Linked DNA regions of Homo sapiens: regions 1, 2, 3, 4, 5 and 6 are each linked to region 7. The links are contacts of gene promoters, found by promoter capture Hi-C in blood cells and fetal thymus (Javierre and others, 2016). All regions are on one chromosome and are shown on one strand. The core of a region is centred on a gene start or on the middle of the fragment in contact, and the rest is flanking DNA. Distances in the headings are between cores, read along the strand shown.

What was found. Contacts are between HindIII fragments. The CHiCAGO score rates a contact against its expected background, and 5 or more counts as called.
Region 1: a contact is called between a fragment that was not itself captured here and the fragment with the promoter of RBM26 in region 7, in 2 of 17 cell types (total B cells and naive CD4 T cells). The highest score is 5.6, in total B cells.
Region 2: a contact is called between a fragment that was not itself captured here and the fragment with the promoter of RBM26 in region 7, in 1 of 17 cell types (total CD4 T cells). The highest score is 7.4, in total CD4 T cells.
Region 3: a fragment that was not itself captured here is called in contact with the fragment with the promoter of RBM26 in region 7 in 4 of 17 cell types (non-activated CD4 T cells, total CD4 T cells, naive CD8 T cells and 1 more); the score reaches 9.9 in non-activated CD4 T cells.
Region 4: a contact is called between a fragment that was not itself captured here and the fragment with the promoter of RBM26 in region 7, in 3 of 17 cell types (naive CD4 T cells, total CD4 T cells and naive CD8 T cells). The highest score is 7.0, in naive CD4 T cells.
Region 5: a fragment that was not itself captured here is called in contact with the fragment with the promoter of RBM26 in region 7 in 1 of 17 cell types (erythroblasts); the score reaches 5.3 in erythroblasts.
Region 6: a contact is called between a fragment that was not itself captured here and the fragment with the promoter of RBM26 in region 7, in 1 of 17 cell types (naive CD8 T cells). The highest score is 6.6, in naive CD8 T cells.

The regions. Positions count from the first base shown.
Region 1 is chr13:78,120,184-78,123,952 of GRCh38, reverse strand. All of the region lies in intron 1 of OBI1-AS1 (OBI1 antisense RNA 1), which reads right to left. Among named protein-coding and RNA genes, the nearest start is that of OBI1-AS1, 67 kb to the right of the region's middle. The HindIII fragment of the contact is 165 bases long and covers 2,301-2,465 here.
Region 2 is chr13:77,678,524-77,682,218 of GRCh38, reverse strand. No RefSeq gene overlaps it. Among named protein-coding and RNA genes, the nearest start is that of SLAIN1, 17 kb to the left of the region's middle. The HindIII fragment of the contact is 552 bases long and covers 1,253-1,804 here.
Region 3 is chr13:77,703,530-77,706,916 of GRCh38, reverse strand. The region is part of intron 1 of SLAIN1 (SLAIN motif family member 1); the gene reads right to left. Among named protein-coding and RNA genes, the nearest start is that of MIR3665, 7.1 kb to the right of the region's middle. The HindIII fragment of the contact is 6,755 bases long and covers 1-3,387 here.
Region 4 is chr13:77,738,950-77,742,759 of GRCh38, reverse strand. All of the region lies in intron 2 of SLAIN1 (SLAIN motif family member 1), which reads right to left. Among named protein-coding and RNA genes, the nearest start is that of MIR3665, 43 kb to the right of the region's middle. The HindIII fragment of the contact is 1,116 bases long and covers 693-1,808 here.
Region 5 is chr13:77,769,779-77,773,592 of GRCh38, reverse strand. No RefSeq gene overlaps it. Among named protein-coding and RNA genes, the nearest start is that of EDNRB-AS1, 47 kb to the left of the region's middle. The HindIII fragment of the contact is 344 bases long and covers 1,510-1,853 here.
Region 6 is chr13:77,721,052-77,724,863 of GRCh38, reverse strand. All of the region lies in intron 2 of SLAIN1 (SLAIN motif family member 1), which reads right to left. Among named protein-coding and RNA genes, the nearest start is that of MIR3665, 25 kb to the right of the region's middle. RefSeq lists an enhancer at 576-705. The HindIII fragment of the contact is 6,197 bases long and covers 1-3,812 here.
Region 7 is chr13:79,404,460-79,407,987 of GRCh38, reverse strand. It overlaps RBM26 (RNA binding motif protein 26), which reads left to right and starts at 1,733. Exons shown (of 22, transcript NM_001366735.2): 1 at 1,733-2,284. The coding sequence starts at 2,214. RBM26-AS1 (RBM26 antisense RNA 1) reads right to left here and starts at 1,679. Exons shown (of 7, transcript NR_038991.1): 1 at 1,511-1,679. RefSeq lists enhancers at 1,448-1,747, 1,077-2,068 and a silencer at 1,978-2,177. The HindIII fragment of the contact is 7,810 bases long and covers 220-3,528 here.

The sequences.
Region 1 (3,769 bases), core at 1,134-3,633, 1.3 Mb after region 7:
TTATATTCGGGCTCTTAAGGGGTTGATGATTCCCACCCACATTGGGGGTGGCAACCTACCGAGGCCACTTATTCAAATGTTAATCTCACAAGCACCCTCACAGATACACCCCCAAAGTCACATATAATCTGGGCATTTCATGGCCCAACCAAGTTGACACATAAAATTAACCATCACAGGGCCCTTCATAATTTGGTGGCAATGATAAAACCTGCCCATCATTCAATACAATTGAATACAACCCTACCCATCCATTAAGTTTATGCTAAACCACACCTGCTCCATGGAGCCTTGCCTGACTCTCTTATAGGATGGGAAGCTGCACTATAATCCCATCACTCACCTTCTTCACCATTCTTCTCCACCCTTCTTTCGTGATCTGTCCTCTGCCTTCTCCCCAGCAAACATTTACTGATCACCTAATGTGTGAAAAGCTAACTTGACAACTAGTCAGGGACTATTTGTAAAGTTTTCTATATTGCTCTTGAGCTTTCCATGTTTCTTTGACTGGGCTTCCAAGCATGAGTGTAATTTCTGTGAAGATAAGGACTACATCTCATACTTGTTTGTATATCTTGCAATGCTTACAGTAGTGCTTTCAACAAAGTAGACTTAATAATTTTTTGTGTGTTAAATGTATTTGCCCCTATAACTTTTTAAACAAAGTGATGATGTTCAACTTGATGTAATTAATCTTACATAATTGTGAATTTTGTTTTATGAGACAATGTAAAGTCGAAATAAAAATTGAGGAAATTTGGAATCTGAGTTGATTCCTGGTTCCATCACTTCTTGCCCGTGTGACCTGGAACAATGCATCTAATCTACCTTTGCCAGAGTTTTGTCACATACAAAATGTGGCTAATAACATCTATATAAAGTACTGCAGAGGGCAGTGGTAAGGATCAAACGAGACATGAAGAATGCTCAGGATTGTTCTTAATGTTCTTGTGAAAGGTGCAAATATACCTGTGAAAGGAAAATAAATCTTGCAACCCCCATATCACTAACAAAGGGAAAAGTCAAGCTAAGTACTGCAGACAAATCTGCCTCCCATTCTACTCCTAAATAAAACAGCTACAAAGATTAAAAAGATAAATACCTCTCTCCCACTTTGTCTGCAAAGAAACTCCTTGTGGATAAAGGACAGACAGAACTCAGTCATCTTTCTGCTCACGTGAGACAAATGCATATCTGATTGCTTCCTTTGCCCTATTGTTTCACTAAGCCAGACTAAGGCATAAGTGACTATTCCTGTAAATCGTATATTCAGTGACAGGCTAATCAGAAACTTACAAGAATGTAACCATTTGTCTGTTATTTACCTATGACCTGGAAGCCCCTGCCCCACTTCGAGTTGCCCTGTCTTTCCAGACCAAACCAACGTACATCTTAGACATATAGATTGATGTCTCACGTCTCCCTAAAATGTATGAAAGCAAGCCGTGCCCTGAACCCCTTGGGCACATGTTGTGAGGACCTTCTGAAACTGTGTCAGGGGTGTGCCTCCTTAACCTTGGCAAAATAAACTTTGTAAATTGATTTAGACTTGTATCAGATATGTTTTGGTTTACATTCTAAAGTCATCAGCTACGTTGTTATTTTCAGGACAAATGAACTCTCAATTGCTTAACACCTAACAGGTAGTTCTCACTCAAATTCAGCTGTAGGTCAATGAGGGGAGGAACACACAGAGGCCCCTGCTCAACATAGGCTCTCAAGCATCTAGGTTGATGGACACTCCACTCTCTGGAACATCTGCAGTACCTGCCGCAGCAGAGGCAGATGGGGATCATGGGCTGGGTCCTCCGTGTGTGGACCCGTAAGTGACCCATCAGTACCGCCCAGAAGCAAGAACAGCAAGGGAGTTGGAAAGTGCAGGGGAGCAGATTAAGTGATTGACGAACCTCCTGTCTCCGCGACGGATAATAATGGGATCTATAGAGAGAATGGCAGCAAGTAGAGACACAGTTGAAAAGACGTAAAGGTCACAACAAAGTCATTTCTGGAGTCAGATTTCAGAAATATAAATTTTTGAAGGAATGCTGTTGAATTAAATATTTTAACATAATACTCATTGTTTGACTTCTGAAAAGCAGTACTTCCCAAAACTTTATTATTACTTTTCATGTTTTAAATTCATGTTTCAAACTTTTTCACGGATTACAGATGGAAAGAATCTTGTTTTTAGAATCAAAAGTTGATCTTAGCCATTATTTTCAGTGTGAACGTGTTTTACGTACCAAACCTGCACTTCTTGTTTGCTGCCAGCAGGGGGAGGTGTAAGAATTCTTTAAGCTTCCTCACTAAACTTAAGAGAAGCTGAAAGGGGCAGAGAAAGTGACCGATTATTAATCATTTCCCTAAAATCAGCAGGGTTTCCTGCAGAGAGACACTGATTATCTTGGAATGTTTTGAATATAGGATCCATTAGAATAACAAAAAGCACTTGAAAAAAAAAAGCTTGTGTAAAGATGCTCTAAGTTTTTCTCTGGTTTTGTTTCATTTTTCCAAAATAAAATTTGTGACTATAGACTGCTTCACTTTTGGGGGGATGAGCTCCTGTATATTTCTGACATAGAAATACAGAAACGAGTCACCTTTATCTGAGCCTATGAATTCTCTGATTCTGTTAGGGAGCTGAGTCCTTCATTCTTTTCTGCTGTTCCTTAAAATTTCTTACACTTTCCCAGGAGTAACTGCTGATGTCCTATCAGTGACTGCACTACACCTTTGCTATCCTGCTGATTATTCATCAATGTCCTTTCTCCGTGATTAAGAGGTGTCACATCATCGCATATGATCAACTTCCTGACTTTTACTCAGGGGTTTAATGGAAGGGATTGTTTTTTGGTTTGTTGGTTTGTTTCTTTGGCCTCTCTAGCTCATAAGAAAAAGTATCTGAATTATATGTAAATCTTATATTTTCTTCTTAGATGAATTTTAAAGTGTGTGTAAAATGAAGAAAATATTACACTAGAGTAGAGGAAAGAGAAGCTAATAAAATTTTCATCTAAGAATAATTTTATTGTTTTTCTGTTCTTTTTTTCTGGTTGTCACTTTGTGCAATCAATCCAAATAATTCAGATCACAAAACTATCTCTTCCTTTGATTCTCATATAATATGGTACTTAGTTAAGTCTTTGGCATTTTGATCCAAACGTTTTTCTAAACCTTCTATCTGCTTTTGTCTATATAGCCGTGGCTATATAGACGATCTAGAATGTGGCATATTGTTCATCTTTTACGCTCAGTGAATTATGAGATTATCTAATTTGTTGCATAAATACATACAGAGGTATCTTTATGCTAGAGTTACAAAAAGTTACACTGCATTATTCAGAATTTTAAAAACTTACTTTAAAAAATTAAGTCTACTATATAACTCCATATCCTATTGCTATGGTTTGGCTCTGTGTCCCCACCCAAATCTCATCTCATATTGTAATCCCCATAATCCCCACATGTCAAGGGAGGGACCTGGTGGGAGGTGATTGAACCATGGGGATGGTTTCCCCTATGTTGTTCTCACGATAGTGAGTGAGTTCTGACAAGATCTGATGGTTTTATAAGTGTTTGACAGTTCCTCCTTCACAGGCTCTCTCTTGCCTGTTGCCATGTAAGATGTGCCTGCTTCCTCTTCTGCCATGATTGTGAATTTCCTGAGGCCTCCCTAGCCATGTGGAACTGTGAGTCAATTAAACTTCTTTTCTTTTTAAATTACCCAGTCTCAGGAAGTTCTTTATAGCAGTGTGAAACTGACTGACAC
Region 2 (3,695 bases), core at 279-2,778, 1.7 Mb after region 7:
TCCTTGAAGTTCAACATTAGGTTGTTAATTTGTAATCTTTCTATTTTTATGTAGACATTTGACACTATAAACTTGTATCTTAGTACTGCTCTTGCTGTATCCTAGAGGTATTGATATGTTGTGTGTCATTCATTTCAAAAATTTTTAAATTTCTGTCTTAATTTCATCATGGACCCAAAGTTCCTTCAGGAGTATGTTGTTTAATTTTCATGTATTCGTATAGTTTCCAGAGTTCCTCTTGGTATTGATTTCTAGTTTTATTCTGCTGTCGTTTGGGAAGATACTTGATATGATTTTAATTTTTTTCAATTTATGGAGACTTTTGTGGCTTAATATATGGTCTGTCTTTGAGAATGTTCCATGTGCCAATGAGAAGAATGTATATTCTACAATTGTTGGGGAAAACGTTCTGTATATATCTATTAGGTCAATTTGGTCAAAAGTCTAATTTAAGTAGAGTGTTTCTTTGTTGATTTTCTGTCTCAATGATCTGTCTAGTGCTGTCAGTAAGGTATTGAAGTCCCCCACTATTATTGCACCTTATTCTTTAGGTCTAGTAATATTTGTTTTATGAATCTGGGTGCTATGGTGTTTGAAGCATACATATTTAGGATTATTTTATTCTCTTATTGAATATATCCTTTATAATTTTATAATGCCTTTCTTTTTTGTTTGTTTGTTTTTTACTGTTTTGAATTGAAATCTGTTTTATCTGTATAAGTATAGCTACTCCTGCTCAGTTTTGGTTTCCATATGTGTTGAATATATTTTTCCACCCCTCTACTTTCAATGTATCTATATTTTTAACCAATAAGATGAGTTTCTTGTAAGTGGTATATAGTTAGATCATGTTTTTAAATTCATTCTGCCAATATATATCTTTTAAGTGGAGCACTTAATCCATTTGCATTCAATGTTAATATTGATAGATAAGGTTTTATTCCTGTCATATTGTTCATTGTTATCTAGTTATCTGGTAAATTCTATTTTTTTTTCTCTGTTTGCTCAGTGGTTTGGTGGAGTTCTGTCATAGTGCCATTTGATTCCCCTATCTTCCTCCTGTGATTTGTAATTGTTGTATAAGACCTGAGAGTGTTTACTTTCGTGTATTTTTATAATGGCAAATATCACCTTTTTGTTTCAATATATTGGACTCCTTTAGCATTTCCTGTAGGTCCACTCTAGTGGTTATGAATTCTCTCAGTGTTTGCTTATCTGGGAATGACCTTATTTCCCCTTCATTTATGAAGCTTCTTTTAGCTGGATATAAAATTCATGACTGATAGTTTTGTTTTTGTTTTTTTTTCTTTTTTCTTTTAGCACTTTGAAAACAGCATACCATTCTCTTCTGGTATGGAAGGTTTCTAATGAGAAATCTGCTGTAGTTTGATGGGTTTCCTTTGTAGGTAACTAGACACTCGCAATTTTAGGATTTTTTTCTTCATATTGACTTAGACAGTCTGATTCCTATATGTCCTGGCAAAGTCTATTCTGCGATGTGTTTTGCTTGTGATCTTTGGGCATCCTATACCTGGATGTTTAAATCTCATGCTAGACTAGGGAAGTTTTCATCAATTGTTTCCTTAAGTAGTTTTTCTAAACTTTTTGCTTTTTTTTAATCCCTCAGGAATACCAAAGGATTGTAAGTTTTGTCACTTTATGTAGTCCCATACTTTTTGAAGGTTTTTTTTTTATTCTTTTAAATACTGTTTTATTTATTTTTCTTTGACTGGATTAATTCAAAAGACCTGTCTTCAAGTTCTGTGTCTCTTTCTCCTGCCTGGTCTAGTCTACTGTCGAAGCTTTTAGAAGTATTTTGTAATTACTTCAACGAATTTTTCTTTTCCAGGAGTTTTGTTTGTTTTTTAAGATATCTATCCCTTTGGTAAATTTCTTGTTCATATTTTGAATTGATTTTCTGATTTCTTTGTAATGGTTTTCAGATTTCTCTTGCATCTCACTGAGCTTCTTTAAAATCACTATTTTGAATTCTTTATCTGGCATTTTTTAGGATTTCTTTTTGGTTAGGATTTATTTCTGGAGAATTACTGTGTTGTCATAATACCTTACTTCTTAATATGATTATTTATTTTCATCTAAACAGTTGCTTATTTTTGAAATTACTTTCATTGGGGTGGGACCTTTTTTCCTTGAGGATGTGATTATGATATATGTTGAGTAGAGCCATTTGGCATTGCTTCTGGGTGTATTCAATGGTGAAGATCCTGTATTATTTCCTTGATTATAAATAGCCATATCAGTGTGGTGGTTTATCAAATGTTGGTTGTAGTAGTGGAGTACTGGACAGGTGAGCAGCCTCATCGACTCTTGAGTAGCCAGGGTGGCATGGGCAATGGTGATAGCAGCGGTCACAAGAAGCTTATCTCCTTCTCAAGTGCTGTGCATTTGTGTCAGCACATGCTGTGATGGGCTGTGCAGGTCAACCTCCAAGCCAGTAGGTAGTGGGTATTTGCAGGTAAGAGCAGCTGAAGTGGTAGCGATATGGTTTATGCTTGATTTTTGTTAACCAGAAGTACTTGGGTGTCCCAGGCAATGGGCTGGGCATGGAACACTCAGTGTTCTGGGTCCTGTGCTCAGCCATGGTGGGGAGTTTGATACTGGATGGAGCTGATCTTGGCAAGCCTGCACTCAGGTCCCCCAGTAGTGGTTGCAGGCACTAGCCCTGCTGGGGGGATCCAGAGGCAGTCACTATGCTGCTGGAGAAATGCCTGGGCAAGGAGCAGAGCAACCACTGCTGCACCAAAGTCCCAGGAACAGGAGCAGAGAGTGACGCTGCCACCAAGGTCAGATAAACAGGAATGAGACAGGTCTCTCCCTCACTCTCTAGACCCAATTGGGCTCACTCTCCAGACCCAATCGGGCTCACTCTCCTTTCCCTACCAATGGAGCCAGTTGGAACATTTAGTCACATGCAGTCTGCTTTCAGTCCTCAAGGCCATCCAAAGCTATAATACTCATCATCTGAGCCAAAACCATGCCTCTCAGGCAAATCTCCCTCTGCTCTCGTCCCACGAAAAGGGGGTGCCCAATTCCAGTGCCCATGGCTGGAGCCCACACTCCACTCATCTCTCAGTTCTGGCTGTGGGGCCCCTCCTCTGCTTGAAACCCAGTACTCCAATATCCAGACTGAAACTCTTATGCCAACAGCTGCCACTGCTGCTAAATTCCAGGATTCTGCATGGCTTGCTGTGAGCTAGCATCAAGAATGGCACTGTCCTGTCAGCACCCAGGCCTGAGAAGATGCTTTGGAGGCATTCCAGGGCCGTTTCTTCTCACAGTTTCCAGGCTGCTTCCCATGTTAGCTCTAGAGCTTAGGAGAGTCAAGGTCCTCTCCCATGGCTAGGGTTGCGCAGTTCTCCAGTGGAGAGATGAATCACAAAGAAACACTCACTCACCCTTTCCTGTACTGGGGATTCACTCACAGTTTTTAGCCAGACCCCACCATGCAGGCTGCCTGCCCACTTTCTCTTTCCCAGTATCTGAAATTGTCTTTCGCTTTTCTGTTGAATTCTCATGTTTCTTCTTGAATGAAATTTCACAGTATGACTCTCTACACACTATTTTGCTTCTTCCAAGTGAGTGAGACATGCTACAAAAGCCTCTAATCTACCATCTTGGAAAAACAAAAACAAAAACAAAACACCGGAGTGTATTTTCTGACTGCTGATGTCTTT
Region 3 (3,387 bases), core at 717-3,216, 1.7 Mb after region 7:
GATATCCAAACACAGTGCACTCAACAGCTAGAACATAACAGAAGCTAGAACAAAATGGAACAGTGCCTTCAAACATGAGGGAAAGGTTAACTTAGACTTTTATAGCCAGTCCAACTATGAATCTTATGTAAGGGCAGAACAATGACATTTTCAAATACGCAGGATCTCAAAGTGTGCCTCTCCTGCAGGTCTCCTTTCTCAGAAAGCTATTGAAGGCTGTGCCCCACCTAAGAGAATAAAAAAAATACAAACGAAAAGGATTTAAGAAGAAGGGAATCCACATTGCCAAGAAACTGAAAGAGTTCCCATGGCAACAGCAGTATGCATCCAGCTTAGGGGGCAAACAGTAAAAACTAGAGCAATGAGATTAAGAGTTTCAGAGGGGATAGCACTACAATATAAATTTTAAAAAAGCAGATTTAACAGACTGCCAAATGTGTATGACCTTAATGAGGGATTTTATGGCTCCTTTAGCGTGTTTGGGGAAATAATTTCTGATAGGTAATTAAAGAAAGTGAAGAGGAGAGAAGAAGTGCCATTACTAACTCTTGGAGGAACAAAGGGGTCAGAGAAAATACATGTTTAACATGCAATTAACAGGACTTAGCTAGTAAATTATAATCATAATGCAGACATTAAATATAAAAGAAAAACCATAAAAACCATTATGAGAAGGGAAAAGAGATATGGTAGTCAAGGGTGAGAGGAAGAGAGCTAAGTTTTCTTCTTTCATAATAAGTCCATAGATGTCTAAGATCATAAAAGTATAAAGACTGTTTAGGAAAAAGAAACAGCTAGTAGAGTATAAAGTGATGCCTATGTGAAGGACTCAGCAGGAGGAGGGAGTAGAGGACTGCTTCCTGTAATAAGCCTAACAAGGGGAGTTTTGAAAACTACTAACATGTTATTATATTATTTTGATAAAACTGTTGAGGTGCTATACAAATGTATGGCATTAAGACAGAAGTGATCATTTTCAGAGTCAGTCTCCTGACAGTGAGCAGGATAGCTTTGAGCCTAGTGTTTCTATGACTTGGCCTAGAGCTGGATTTAAAGAAAGAAAAAGCCCACAATAACCCTGAATGTTTCCAATGAAGTATGACAATTGTCTAGAAAAAAAAAGTCTCAGTTATTCTCAAAATATTTGGTTCTAAAGTCATCTTTTTGCAGATAATACAAAAAACTAGTTATAGAGATCATGTGGCTAAAAACTCCTTGAGTACAACACAGCTCCAAAATTAGATAGGCAAGGTTTTTAAAAAAAAAAAAAAATCTGTATTTCTCCTATATAGCTCTAACCCTCCAAAAAGTCATTTTAAAAATCACTTTATTCAATGTCATTAGAATGCAAGTAACATTTACAATGTCCTATCTGGCCATCATTAGTACATCATACATTCTAGTGACTTATAAACATTTTTTTCAACTTCAGTAGTTTCATTAATGGTATATTGGATTCTGGCAAGAGCATCTGAAAAGTCTTAATCTAAATTTTCAGAATTCTTCAAATTATATTTGAAATATACATTTCAAACTACTATTTGGAATGTCACTCTAATTTTCTTTAACTTTTCTTAAATTGCTTCCAAACCACACACACCAGAAACTACTATCCTTCTCATAGAACCCCTTCTTTTCCATACACATCACATTCTATGCTGGGAGAACAAAAATAATATAAAGCCCATGATAACCCTGAATGTTTCCAATGAAGTATGACAACTGTCTGGAAAACAAAGTCTCAGTTATTCTCAAAATATTTGGTTCTAAAGTCATCTTTTTGCAGATAATACAAAAAACAAATGGTACAGTCACATATGTATACACACAAGTATATATTTTATGTGTGTATATATACATATAAAACCTCTGTATATACAGTTTCTATGTATATATACATATAAAACCTCTGTATATACAGTTTCTATGTATATATACATATAAAACCTCTGTATATACAGTTTCTATGTATATATACATATAAAACCTCTGTATATACAGTTTCTATGTATATATACATATAAAACCTCTGTATATACAGTTTCTATGTATATATACATATAAAACCTCTGTATATACAGTTTCTATGTATATATACATATAAAACCTCTGTATATACAGTTTCTATGTATATATACATATAAAACCTCTGTATATACAGTTTCTATGTATATATACATATAAAACCTCTGTATATACAGTTTCTATGTATATATACATATAAAACCTCTGTATATACAGTTTCTATGTATATATACATATAAAACCTCTGTATATACAGTTTCTATGTATATATACATATAAAACCTCTGTATATACAGTTTCTATGTATATATACATATAAAACCTCTGTATATACAGTTTCTATGTATATATACATATAAAACCTCTGTATATACAGTTTCTATGTATATATACATATAAAACCTCTGTATATACAGTTTCTATGTATATATACATATAAAACCTCTGTATATACAGTTTCTATGTATATATACATATAAAACCTCTGTATATACAGTTTCTATGTATATATACATATAAAACCTCTGTATATACAGTTTCTATGTATATATACATATAAAACCTCTGTATATACAGTTTCTATGTATATATACATATAAAACCTATGTATATATTTTCTATATATATACATATAAAACATATGTACATATATTTTCTATGTATATATACATATAAAACATATGTATATATATTTTCTATGTATATATATACATATAAAACATATGTATATATATTTTCTATGTATATATATACATATAAAACATATGTATATATATTTTCTATGTATATATATACATATAAAACATATGTATATATATTTTCTATGTATATATATACATATAAAACATGTATATATATTTTCTATGTATATATATACATATAAAACATGTATATATATTTTCTATGTATATATATACATATAAAACATATGTATATATATTTTATATGTGTATATATACACATATAAAAATATATATGTGTGTGTGTATATATATATATATAATTTTTTTTTTTTAGACCTGCCACTGAAAAGTAATATGTGGTAATTTTCAGACAAATAATTTTAAGAGCCTTCAATCTCTGCAAGTTTTATTTTAAGGAAAGCTGAAACATCAACACTAATAAGCACGATCAACGAATCTTTAGTTCTCTGTAACAGTGTTTGAGTCACTGGCACCTGCTAGGATCAAACTAGATAGCCACTACAATACTTAGTTCCAACAGGCTCTTAAAAGGATACATGAAGTTCAAGCGTTACTTACTAAGCTGTCCTATAACAAACTTTCCCTCCACCCCCAACCCTGCCTCGCCCAGTTGCAGGTAAACTACTTCAGCACCTCACTTCAACATTTAAAAGTTACT
Region 4 (3,810 bases), core at 1-2,500, 1.7 Mb after region 7:
TAATGAAAATTTATTTTGAGTTTCTACGTTAGAAATGTTTTCAATTTTCTATTTCCACATAAGGATTTAGTGTTTTGCAATATAAAAAAGGATTAGTGTCAAAAGAAAAACTCAAGTTTATAATCTTCCTAATCTTTAGGAATTAAGGGAAATGTTCTTAATATTAACTATATGTAATTCTATATTTTTTCTACTCAGTTAATATCAGAAAATGTTGATAAAAAACATTTTATGTAAATTCAGTATTGGATTATGGGAGGACTTAGAATGACTATTGTGTTTCCAAATGGCCTTGAGACCAAAACAAGGTTTAAAGGAAAAACAGTGTACAGAGTAACAGAGGGGTGTCTATACCAGAGCTTAACAATGACTATCCGGTACAGAGACTATTGGTGATCACTCGGATTTTTTCTTTAAAAAAAACTTCCAAATTATCTGCATTAAACATACATATTATTTATATAACTAGCTTTTCAAGGTAGGAATATACATGTTATTACTTTAATATTATTTTTTAAATTAATATAATGAACAAAAAGGAATTACACCAGCCATGGGCAGATGATCTCATTCTTACATTACCTCACTTGTCTAATTAATGTACTTCTCCCCTCCAAAATTACCACCCCTTGTATCTCCATGTTCTTGGGGTCACACACACACACACACACAAATCCCAAATCATAAAAGCTTAAGTCACACCAAACATGATTTACTCTCCTCTCATGAGATACAAATCAATGCGCTAAGCAAAATTCACTTTTCTGAAAAGTAATCATTTAGACATGTACTAAGCAGAAGGAATAATATAAAAAATATAAACAAGGCTAAACTTCAAGAAATAACTTGGTTTGTATTCACTGGGAATTTGACAAAACTTGAAAAACCAAGTATTAAAAGGACTGCTTTGAAATGCATGCCCCCAGACCACTTTTAATGAGCAATGCTAATGAGCAATCAGACAGCTGAAAAGTGCTTTAAAATGGGCAGTGGGATGGAGAGAAAAAAAAAAAACTGTGGGATGTGGACAGTCAAGAAAATAATCAGCTCCAAACTGGGATTCTTCAGATCCTTGCAAAACACCAAGTTTACTTAAAAAAAAAAAAAAAAAAATTCCTTTTACTTCAGAATCATTACGTACCAACACATTCTAACAATTACATTAAAAATATCTTTTCCTTAAGTATGTGGAAGAACTAGGCAAGGAAACCACATTCGCAATGACAACACTTTCAGAATCCACACATTTCATGAAACTGTGAAGCCTGGTTGCCAATTGACACCAGTCGTATATGTCACTTATCCAACCCGTAACTTACAGTGGTTAAGCAGCTTTTCCCAATCGGAGCCAGAACACAGACATGCACTTCCAGTTCCTTCTCTTCTATGTAGGTCAACTTGACTCCAGAATACACTACAAACTAGGGGTTAATAATGCAACACACACTAGGTAGCTGTTCTCACATGTTCAATCTCTATTATTCAAAGTTTCTCATTAAAAATTCTATATTTTAAAAGACCAATAGTTCTTTGTGACTGCTATCTTGCCTAACAGATGATGTTATTTTATACCAGTCTGATCACTTGCCAGGCAAATTACAGTAACTGCGTGTTCTCACCCACAGATGCGGGCGGCAGCACATCACAAGTAAGCAGCATTCATCACTCTGCACAATAACCACTGTGACCCAGCCTCCCTGCACAATTGACACAGTTATTGTGGCTATGACAGCAAGATCCCAACTAGGAACACAATTAGCGTCTATTGCAAGAAAGAATGCTCTACATTGTTGTTTAGCATTGAAGCTTTTCAGAAAGGGGAGGAAAATTATTGTAAAGGCAGGCTAACAAAACAATAATGCTCCACTAGTGCCCAAGGTTACAGTGGAGGAGGAGGAGGACAGGAGTGGAAGCTATCACATCCTAGTTGTTCTTCAGTACATAGCTAAAGAATTGTAACAGGAAGCACTTTTATAAAGAATAAAACAAACAAAAAGAACTTGTAAAAAAGAGCAATTTTATCTTTTTCAACCAATTATCTCAGTGGATTTTTGGTATATAAAATGATGTGAAATGATTCAAGAGGCTCAGTGATGACCGAAATAGCTCTAAAGAAAGGAGTGAGGCAATTTTGCCAAAAGAGAAAAAATGGGTGATCCATTTTTGAACAACAGTTAAATTTCCCTATACTCCTACTCCAGAGTTCTATTTATAAAAAAAGGGGGGGGGGGCGGTTCGCAAACTTGGAAGTGGCATAGACTATGCATTTTTTCATTTTATTCCAATCCCTAGAATAGCATCGAACTGGCCCCAAACAGGACTACACACTGAATCAATGTACGATACTTGGCACAGTTTTCTTTCCCAAATGCCTTAAGCTAAACTGCCTCCCAGGACACTTCTTTCTGCATAATCTCTGTAGTTCTACCGCAACTTCCTTAACCACTCACCACCTCTCACCAGATTACTGCAACCTGCTCTTCAACAAACTTCCAGCCACCAACACTGCCCTGAGCAAACCTGTTCTGAATGTCATGTATTTTAACTGTGTTACTCTCATCAATTAAAGTACCGCAGGGGCTTTTCATCAAATGCAAGACCTTAAAGGTACTTCAGCTCATTTCACTACCACCCTTACAGACTGTCATTTATCTCATGCCCACCTCTACAGTGTCTCTGAAGCTACCCTAAGGATGCACCCTTATTGGTTAAACTTTATACTTCACCTCCCTTGTCTGACAATCATCTTCTACTGAATGAATGTGATAAAGTACTAAATTGTAGACTGATACCTCATTTTTTTTCAAAAATATAAGTTGAGGGTGACTAACGGTCTCTTATTTTTTGTACATTTTCAAAGTTGCTTGACTGAAAAGATAAGTTATAACACATCTGTGTAGTTATTTTTGTATACCATTAAGCAAAGTATGACCAAAAAAACTAGATTCGATAAATGCTCCCGTGATAAAATCAAGAAAATCATAAAAAGGCAGACGACAGAATGGGTTTAAGGAACAACCTAAGTTTCTTTAATTTGTCACACTGAAAATTATTCTGTGACCAACAAAAAGTTCCCAGAAACAATGACATTCCTACCATTGCTTGATCATCTTTGCTTAGACTCAAAGTATTCAAATTGTTGTTAAATAGACATGTCTCTACACATAATCAAAATCAAATTTAAGAAAGCAATTACTTAATTCACATAAAAGAAAAAACTGATTTAATATCTTAGAAGACTCAAAAGGTCGGTAGTGCATTAAACTAAAGAGTTCAAAAATAAAGCAACACTATAACATATTCTGGCAACAATCCTTTTCATTCTTCTCACTACAGTCATTTCAGTACCTAATATAAGACTTGGAACACAGTATGCACTCAATAAATGCTAAATGTGGTCAAAATTTTGGCAAGTTGACTAATATTTCCTTATCTCAAACCATTCTACCACTCCTATCCTGACATATAAATTACTTTGCCCAATTTTTTAAACTTAAGTATAATTCTGTTAACTCTGAAGACACATAATAGTCTAATTAGATGTTTCAAACCAGCTAAAATCTCGGTGAAAAATATACCTGGAGAAGCACTTCATTAATACTTTCTAGTAACTACTAAGTTGCTGAATTTTATATCAATCTTCCGGTTTCCAACTAAATGATGTTATATTACTAAGGCCTAGGATCTGTGTGACTGGGGTAACAAACATGGAAAAGTGGTTAAACAGGTGACACTAAGATGAGTTAGTTCCTACAGCACTGCATCGCACAGTTAAAAGGAAGGATTATGCCAAGCACACTAACCGGTGGA
Region 5 (3,814 bases), core at 432-2,931, 1.6 Mb after region 7:
ATCCTTCAAACACCCCAAAATCTTCCCTATCTGTGCCTGGAAAAATCTTTCTCCTTCTCTTCACTTGATTAACTCCTGTACATTTTCAGCTTAAATATCCTTTTCCCAGAAGAGGAGGTCCCAAGGATGATTATTTAAATGGGATACCTTCAGAGAACCCCTATTGAAATAATCCTTTTTCTCTTCCTCTCATTCCCTACCATTCTATATCTCAGCTCCTACTTTTTCCTTTGCAGAAAAGAAATAGTATTTTGCTTATTTGATTTGAACCTTTCTCACTAGAATCAGGAATGTAATTTCCACGATGATAGGAATCATGCCTGACTAATTGGCTATTACATCCTCTGCATCTAGCACAAAACCTAACAAATAGTAGACCCTCAATAATATTTGTTGAATGGATAAACTCAGAGCCTAGTTTAAAATAAAATAATAACACTTAAGCTACCTGGAAAACCTTCCGATCCCATCAAAGTTGATCATTCCCTCTGTCCTAAAACCACTCTGTGTATCTTTTTCTATCTTTTGTCGACACAGTGCTGCATTGTTTATATGACTGTTTTCTCTGAATTTCAGAGAGCCTAAAAGTCTGTATATGATTTCTTCTCCCCAGTCCCAGGCTGACACTTCAATTGCACATACATAGATTAGGTATAACACTAAGGGTCCTTATACTCCCTAGAAGAATGGTAAAGACAAAGATTAATGCAGATGCAAATTGTAATTTCTTGGGTGACCACTAAAAGAATAGCAAAAGACAATTAGGCTATAATTTTCAAACTAGTAGGAAATTAAAACAGAATGATAAAGCAAACTAAAGTAAGACTAAAATGGAAACCAAAGGAACAGACACAACAAACAGAAAGCTCATAAAAAGGTGATAGATTGAAATCTAAATATATCAGTGATTATTTTAAATACTAATGGTTTAAATGCTGAAGTTGAGTCAACAATGTTCATACTAGATTTTTAAAAAAATCAACAAACTATATGATGCTTAACATAAGACTTCTAAAAGTTTGAAAGTAAAAGGTTTAAAAATATACATTATATAAGCACTAAAAGAAATCTGATGTGTTTAAAATTTAACATAGCCTTGATATCAGAAAAGTAGGTTTCAAGACATTAAAAAAAGATAAAGAATAGTTCCATTGATAACAGGTCTACTTTGCTAGGAAGATAAAACTTGTTAAATATGTATACACCAAAGTTACATGGTGTATGTCAAAAAACATAAAGCAAATTTGATAGAACTGTAAGGGGGAACATTTACACTCACCATTATAGAGGGAGGTTTTATCACAACTCTTGGAAATAGAGTAAGTATAAACAACATCAGATTGTAAAACATGACTTGATCTGAACTCTAATTCCTGAAGGCTTCACTAGAGATTTATCACATATTTAAGGGAAAAATAATTCCAATATTACACAAATTCTTCCAGATAGAAAAAGACAAAATATCCCCAACTCACTCTGTGAGATTAATGCTATCATCATTCCAAAGCTTAATAGAGACAGTTTTTTAAAAAATTATGGACCAATTTTATTCATAAAATTGGACGAAAATCCTAAGCATTAGAAAGTCAAATACATCTGTCTTTAAAAGAAAAACACAATCATGACTAAACTGGGTTTATCTCAATAATTCAAAGTTGATTCAACATTCAAAAAATCTATGTTAAAGTCAGCATATTACCAGATTAAATGAGATAATCATTTTAATCTATTAATAATAGATTATTAATAGGATCATATTTTATAGATGCAGAAAAAATCTGTTAAAATTCACATTCTTTCACAATAAAATAATACTATTAGCAAATTTAAAACTAAGGGTAAAATAGAAAGCTTTTTTTCTGAAAATAGCAAAGAGAGAAAGATACCTATTATTATATATTTAATATTGCATCAAAAACCATAGGCAAGAAAGAAAAAAATATACAAATAGGAAAGGAAGAAATAATCTAATATCCATATGTTTGACTGTATGTACAGATACAGTTTCTATGTATTCTAAAGATAAGTTAATATAAACCAACATAAATTTAAGGTTGTTGAATAAAACATTAAAAAGAAACCACTAGAGATAAAATTTTTTAAAATATCATTTACAACAGCATGAAAAATCAAATACTTAGAAATTATTCCGGCAAGATTTCTCCATAGAAAACCTATACAATTTTAATAAGAGATTTAAGAATACTTGAATCAGTAAGAGGTAGATCATATTCACGAATTATAAGACTTGAAATTGTAAAGATTCAATTTCCCTCAAACTGAATGCAATCCCAATCAAAATTCCAATAGGATATTTTTCTTGAACTTGACCCACTTGCTTAAAAATATATATGGAAATGCAAAGAGACAAGAATAGTCAAAACACTCTTAAGAGAAAACAAGGGAGCAGGATTGCTCTGCTATTTAGAAAATCTTATATAAGGCTACAGTGATTAAAACAACATGGCTCTGGTGCAAAAATAGACAATTCCAAAACAGACAAATATAAAGCTATGACAAAAAGCAGTGGGGGTAAGGATGAAGTTTTCAGTGTTACTAGGACAATTAGATATGCACATGGAAAATATAAAATATAATTGTAACCCTACCTTGTACAATATATAAAGATCAAATCCAGGTAGATTATAAATTTATAGGAGAAAAGTAAAATAACAAAACTTCTAGAAGAAAGGAGAATGTATCACGATCCTAGGGTAAGGAAATACTCCTTAAACAAGACACAAAAGAGTAACCTTAAAAAATGGCAAATTGTACTATATTAAAATAATTCTATTTATCAAAACACTCTATTAAGGGAATTAAAAGTCATGCTACATAGGGGGAAGATATTTTTATAACACATATAACTGAAAAAAGGACTATAGCAGAATATATGAAGAACTACTGCAATTAGCAAAAAACCCCAAAAGAAAAATAAGCAAAAGATCTGAACAGGAATCCATCTAATAAATGAATGAAAAGGAAAAGGTATTGGTCTTACTGGCAACCAGGGAAATGCAAATTAAAACCACAAGGAGACATTGCTATACACCCACAGATTAAAAAGTTAAAGACTAACAATATCAAGGATGTATAGCAAGGATATACTGGAATTCTCATACACTGCTGGCAAAAACGTAATATTATACAGTTATTTTGGAAATTGGTTGGGATTATCTGGTAAAGTTAATGGCAATGTTTTACAGGCAGCTTCTATAATTAAGATGGTCCCAATCATCCTCACCTCCAGCATTCACATTTTTGTGTCATTCTCTCCCCATGAATAAGGGCTGGACCTACTGGCTGGCTTCTGATGAACAGAGTAGGGCAAAAGTGATGAGACCTCACTTTCAAGATTACGTTTAAAAGGCCTTAATTTCCATCTTGTTGGATCATTCTGATGAAGCAAGATGCTACTTTTTGACCTGCGCAAGGAGAGGTCCACACAACAAGAGACTATGAGAGCAGCTTCTGTTGACAGCACACAAGGAAATGGGTTTTTCCAACAACCACAAAAGTGAACTTGAAGCAGGTTCTTCCACAAGCATGCTCGAGATGACTGCATCCTTGTAAGAAACACTAAGCCAGAGAACCCAGCTAAGCCATAGCCAGATGCCAGACCCACAGAAACTGAGATAATATTGTTTTAAACCACTAAGTCTTGTGCTAACTTGTTACACAGCACTAGCTAACTAGTACAAATGTAAACCATGCTAGGTTGTCCGTATTAACCCAACACCACAACTCCCTTCCACATTGGAGAAAAAAGCATCCTCTTTCCTGTATGAGTTCCAGGTTGTTATCCGTGGTATCT
Region 6 (3,812 bases), core at 694-3,193, 1.7 Mb after region 7:
AAGAAAAATAAAATGACGAGTTACTGGGTGCAGCACACCAACATGGCACATGTATACATATGTAACAAACCTGCCCATCATGCACATGTACCCTAAAACTTAAAGTATAATAAAAAAAAGAAAAATGCTTTATTAGAGAATTATTGAAACCAAAAATATGGAAAGCTCGCATTATTCCAATTAAATCTTTATGTTATGAATAAAGTGTGGGTCAAAACCATAATTTTTGATATCTGTCAATTAACCATCATTGACAAAGGACCCCCTTAATTGGAAGCCAGTAAGTATTCTTCAATATGGGGGATTAACTATGAATTCCTCCCTATTCTCTTATAAAACCACACTACAGTAAGAGTTAAACTCAAACTCTTATAAAGCCATAGGAAGACTGAACGGGACAGGAGACAATTATCACACTCGGGATGGTCACAACATCTTAGAAATGAAAAGCGGAAGAGACTTGGGTTTTGACATCCTCTGTTCTATGGCCTTACAGCAAAAAGAAACTAATAAGGACCTAGCAAGGTTCTGGAATCGTAGGTGCGAAGTACCACAGAGGGTAGGGAGTTTTGTGGTGAAGTGAAAAAAACCAGGTGACTGAAAATCTATAGGAAAGCACCTAAACCCTCCAGCTCCCCACCCCGCCTGCTCAGGCAACTGCTCCTCTCCTACTTTGATCAAAGACAGGCTTCATTACCTGAATAAACTGAAATAGAAAGCCACTAGATTTTACAAACACAAATAAAAATACCTTACAGATCTGGAGGACTAAGTGAAAATCTGAATACCAGAAGGTGAGCTCAATGAGGGCAGAGACTTAATACCTGTGCTGTTCACTGATGCATCTCCATCACCTACAATGGTACCTGGTACATAGAAGTCACTCAATATGCAGCAGTAGAGTTTAGAAGATGTGTTTTTTTTTTTTTTTAATCTCCAAAAAAGTAGAACAACAGCAACAAAATCAAGAATAGAAAGCCAGAGAGAAAAATATAAAATTTGAACATCAATCTAGGCGATTCTGACCCACAGAAGTATCTAGAAAGAATAGAGAAAACAAGGGCGGAGGGCTACGAATACAAAGAAATAATGCAAGAAATTTTGCAGAACTAAAGTTTATAGCACACACAAAATAAATGAAATTTCAGAATACCAAGAATAAAAGACAATATTCTAAAATATTCATGTTATTTTAGGTAGAAAGGTCACAAATAAGAATCAGAAATAAGAACGGTGCTGAACTTCAACAGCAACCCCGAAGCTAAAATATAATGGAATAATGCCTTCTAAACTCTGTGGGAAATGGTTTTTAACCTAGAATTCTATACCTAACCCAAATAACAATCCTGCATAAGAGTGAAAGTAGGAATAAAGATGTTTTGAAACACAGGAGGTTCTCAAAATTTACCTGCCACATATCCTTTTTCCCTCTACTCTCCCAAAAAAGCAAATGCAGAAATATTCGTTTCTTTTAATGGAATAGAAAGGAAAGTACTTGTATCTCAGAAGCAGGTAATATAGCACTGAAGAGGGGCCAGAGAAATTCCCAGGATAAGCAAAAGAAAGTCCCACCATGATGGCTCTTCAGAGGCTAAAGATGACTAGTTCCAAGTAGAGTAAGAGAATAGGGCGCTGCCTGAAGGAACAGTAACAAAACAAAATTCTTGGATTTATGTGTCTCATACTGCGGATGGTTCATCAAGAGAGTTTGGGGATAAATTAATGACAAGGACCCTGTCTTATAAATTATAACAGCAACAACAACAACAAAACTAGGTGTCTTTTTCCAATTAATTCTGAAAAAAAATGTTAGATGGGCTGGGCACAGTGGCTCACGCCTGTAATCTCAGCACTTTGGGAGGCCAAGGTAGGTGGACTACCTGAGATCAGGCATTCAAGACCAGCCTGGCCAACATGGTGAAACCACATCTCTATTAAAAAATACAAAAATTAGCCAGGCGTGGTTGCGTGTACCTGTAATCCCAGCTACTCAGGAGGCTGAGGCCAGAGAATCCCTTGAACCCAGGAGGCAGATGTTGCAGTGTGCTGAGATTACACCACTGCACTCCAGCCTGGGCACAGAGCAAGAATCTGTCTCAAAAACAAAAAAGTTAGATGGAAAAAGAAATGATAAAATATTGCATGGCTTGAATATAACTTTCTATCATAATATATACTGATGTCCCCTAAAGGTAGTAAAAGGTTACATAGAAAGGACATGCAGAGAAAAAATATAGAAGTGAGGTGTAAAAGAATTAAATCTTCACCATCCAAAGTCAAAAGCCAATGGATAATGTTTAAAATGAAAAAATTCAAAGCAATGGCCATATAAACATGGAATTTAAAAAGAGAGGTAAACAGTAAAACCAAAACAAATAGCTTTTCTTAAGTATATCTGGGAAATAAAAAGGGCATGAGAGATTGGGGCAGCAATTTGATATTTGTCTTATAACAGTTGTAAGACTATTTTTTAAACTATATTTTATAAAATATAAGTTGAATTTTTTAAAAAAGAATTTTCTCCAGTAAACAACCTAATTGGTTACTTCTTATCTCAACAGGATTATGGATTATGGATCTCTGGAATAAAAACATTTAGTGTCACAGCAAAAGAAGTTTTGAGTTTATATACAAATTAAGTAAAAGACTAATTTTGGTTTTGAAAAACTCGTTCTCTAAACTTTTACAGGAAGTTTAAATAAATTACATCATGAACAAAACTGCAGTATGCCAGTTCCTATCCTCATGACCTCACGATTCTGCCTGAGCTCCACATCAATGAAAGGAAAATCGGATAATGAAGCACTTAGTCTAATATCTCAATAGCAACCACCAATTAGGATTACTTTTTAGAAAAGAAAAAAAAACCTAACCTTATATGTAAATGTATCTAGTGTGCAAATGACATAATGCTTATATGTATGTAAATCTATCTAGTGTGCAAATGACTTAATGCCGGGGTGGGTAAACTGTGGCCGAGAGTACCCCAAATCCAGCCCACTCCTGCTTTTGTAATAATTCACCAGCTAAGAAATGTTTTCATATTTTTTTAATAATTGGGAAAAATATATACATTTTGTGACACGTGAAAAACCACACAAAATTCAAATGTCAGGGCTTGTAAATAAAGTTATATTGGAATGCATCCTCATTCATTAATTTCTGCATTGATCATTGTTTTCTGGGCATGGCTAAGTTGAACAGTCATGACAGAGATTATGTAGCCCACAAAATCTAAAATATTGACTATCTATCTCCTTTCAAAAAAAAGTTTGTTGACCCCTGAGATAAAGGACTAATTCTGAATTCAATTTGAATTTTACTTCAAATTATTGAGCCAAATTTGTATGTTAAAATGTAGATATAAGTCACTGAGTCAAGGATTAAGTAAGGAGGCTTAGGAATGGTCTATATAACCCTTCAAAGAGTTAATCCAAAGGGATTTAATGGTTTGTGTATTAGTCTGTTCTCACACTGCTACAAAGATACTACCTGAGACTGGGTAATTTATAAAGAAAGGAGGCTTAATTGATTCACAGTTCCCCATGGCTGGGGAGGCCTCAGAAAACTTGCAATCATAGTGGAAGGTAAAGGGGAAGCAAGGCACATCCTTACATGGTGGCAGGAGAGAGAGAAAGTGAAAGAGCGAGGAAGTGCCACACTTAACACCATCAGCTCTCATGAGAACTCCCTATCATGAGAACAGCATGGGGGAAACCGCCCCCATGATCCAGTCACCTCCCACCAGGTGCCTCCCTCTACATGTGAGGATTACAAATGGAGATGAGATTTGGCTGGGAACACAGAGCCAA
Region 7 (3,528 bases), core at 484-2,983:
AAAAGGCAAAGATATTAAAAGGCTTTTGCTATTATTTAGGAAGAATAAAAGACTTTAAATAAGACAGTGACAGTGGTATGAGAGATGGATGGGCAAAGTTTGAGCAGTCAGGGAAAGAAGTAGAAGCGTTCTCTGTGGAAAATAAAGTGAACAAATGTTTGGAGAAAGGGAGGGTGAGCAAATCAGTTTATCTGGGGTATACAGTATTTGATAGAAGCTTTGGAAGGCTGAAGTGGAGAGCCAGAGTAATGGAGTAGCTGGTGATAAGGTTGAAAATATTGGTGGCGTCAGCCTGTGGCAAGGCTACAACAAACAGACTAAACAAATATAATTTTAACTTTCGGCAGTATTAAATTTATAAACAATTTTTATTGTAAAATACATATAAAACCTACCGTTTTCATTAAGTATATGGTCCACTGCATTAAGTACATTCATATTGTGCAACCCACACAACACCACTCATCTCCAGAATCTAAATCATCCTAAACTGAAACTCTATTATCCACTGAAATATAACTCCTCATTTCCCCTTCTCCTGGGCACCCTCTCCACCCCTGCTCTTGCTACCATTCCACCTTCTGTCTCTAGGAGTTTTGACTACTCTAGGTACTTAATGTAAGTGGAATCATAATATTTGTCCTTTCATGTCTGGTTTATTTCACTCAGCTAAATCACTTTAATCAACACCCTGGTTATTCAGTAGCTGGATTCTAATTTGTATTCTACTCTATATGCTGTATTTTAAAACAAATGTCTTGCTTTGTAGTTCATAATCTTTCCACCTAATCCTTAAAGACACTTCACTCTAGCAAATTATAAACTCAAGAGTTCCTAAGAACAATTTAGCCTATCGGTGTCTCTCATAAAGAGCTTTTATTGATCTACTTACTGAAAATGTCTTTAGATTGTGAATATTTTCATTCCATTACAGTTCATGGAACGTAGACCCTTTGTAAAATTCCACCTAGTATCTAAATAGAACTCAAGCAGGAATCAAACTTATTTGATCACCCAGGAAAATAGTTTATTTATTTGGGTTGCTAATATGAAGACTCTCTCTTTTGATACTATATAATTTCCCGATCTGAGATAGGGCTGAATTTGCTCTAAATAAAGAGAATTTTAAAAATAACAAAACTTATCTTTAGCTGGGGGAAAGTGCAGGCTGGAAACTACCTGAGAGACGTGAAGGTTCTCTCACCTTTCCCTTGTGGGCAGCCCTCAGTCATTAGGGCTCTACCAGCAAGTCAAGTACTGTTGGACAAGACACTAATCCTCTGGCGGTCTCATTGGGCTCCATTAGACCAGCCTGTGTTTACAAACCTCGTTCACATCACAGCATACACAGAATATGATACTGGTAGGGCACTTAGGTAAACTGAGGAGGTAGTGTGCTCGGCACCTGGAACCTACGGGCCGCCTGGTGTCGCGCACGCGGGAGTGTACGCTCTCAAAGAGCGATCCATCCGGCAGGACCGTTCCAGCTGACAGGCCACGGCCGTCTTACCGGGGACGAGCTGGGGTTCCCGCTGTTTCTGAAGTCAGCGGTCTTTTCCTCCTTGTAAGAAATAAGGTCTTTATATCATAAAGGTAAGCAAAGAATAAAAAGGCACAAAGGCCGCAAGCAACGCACACACGCAAAAATCGAACTACAGCACTCGACCCGCGCATTCTCCGCCGACCTTACGTCTCTCCCAGCAGGCTCCGGGAGCCACCGCGAGACTTCATCAATTCTCGCGAGATTTACCGGCAGCCATCTTCTTGGGGGTGCTGGGAGCCGGGAAGACCCCCTGAATCGTTCCCATTGAGCTGCCCTTCGCCTTCGCTTTCTTTACTTTTGCCTTTTCGACGTAGCCAACAAGCACCTGGTCCCGAGGCTGAGAGAAGGCTCGGGTCTAAGCGCGTGTCGCGCTTCCGGTCTGGGTAGATTTGCTGGGGAAGAGGGAAGGGGGAGGGCCCGGGCAAACCGTTGCTGTTTCAGCCCGGGCTGGGGGCCGGGGACGGGGAGCTCCTGGCACCCCGTGCACTTGTGGCCTGCGGCGGTCCTTGCAGAGCTGTTCGCCGACCGGGGCCCGCGGGAACCTGCCACCGGCGCCTCCCACCGCGGCCCACGCGGGCGGCGCGCGGAGGAGGGGGCGGGGGCAGCGGCGGCTGTAGCGGCCGCGACCTGGGCGGGCGGAGGAGTGTGACGGGCCTTAGGGCCGCTGTGGATGGTTTCTAAAATGATCATTGAAAACTTCGAGGCACTCAAGTCCTGGCTCAGCAAGACTCTCGAGCCCATGTGAGTATCCGGGGGATATCTCTTTGCAGGGATGGCAGTGGGAGATAGGCGGACCCAGAGATCTGTGCAGTTTCCCCAAGTGCCTGCGGTGGAGGCCGAAGCGGTGAACGGAGGTCCCAGGGTTCTGTGGCTTCTCCTCCTCGTCCACCTCGCTTCCAGATTCAGGATACCCCCGAGAGCCTGAGTCGAGCTTTATTTTATTGCTGAGCTGCTCTCGTTTTCCCGTTATATATAGACCGTCTCCAACCCCCACCCGCAATATTTTCCGGGGGCCTCAAAATCGGTTTATTTTAGTGAAACCGACTGTATTTTACTTCCTACAGATTATTTTACCTTGTTTTTCTAAATGAAGTAGACGGCCTTTATTGGGGATTCGGGCAGTTCTAGCTTAAATCACTCACGTTTCACCTAAATATAATTCCTGAAAGCAAGGCCACGTCTCCCATGTGCTGTCTGGCTCATCTGCACCTCTCTTCACTGATTGAAGATGTAACAGGTGCTGAGGTGGCCAGTAAAATTCCCCTTTCCCGCCTACGCGTTCGTTAGCTTGGAGAGGAGGAAGAAAATTGAATCTTCATCCATATGGAATATTTAGCAGTTTTAAGTGGGATGCTATAGATAGATTTTGTGTTGGGGGCTGCGGTTAGAGTGCTGAAATAGTCTTAGATTGGAAAATTTAAGGAGTGTTTTGACGACTTGTTAATACAAAATATGACATGGACCAAAGTGCTTAATCAGAATTGGTTGATTTACAATAATGCAATGGGGAAAATTCACGTATTTAATAAAGTTATTAGGTACCTACTGTATACTACGGGAGGCTTTGGGGATAGAGCTTTTAAATTCTAAAATCGACAAGACATAAATAAATCCAGATATTAATAGAGTTGTGACTATTGTAATAATAGAGAATCATGTAAAAGTGATTATGAGGGGGGCTATTTCACATTGGTCAAGGAAGGACTCTCAGAGAAGGTGACATTGGAGTAACATCTAAAGAGAAGGGACCATGTGTGTCAAAGTCTTGGAAAAGAACATTCCTTGCAAAAGGAAGAGCAAATGAAAGGCCCTGTAGCAGAAGTGATTGTGGTGTGTTTCAGGAAGAGAAAGGCCACTGTGGCTGGAAAGAGCCTTGTGATGAGGGAGAGGATATAAAGGCAACAAGTTGGACAAGTAGGTAGGGGCCACATCATGTATGGGAAGACGTGAGATGATTTAAAGCAGACAAGGACTGATTTAATTTT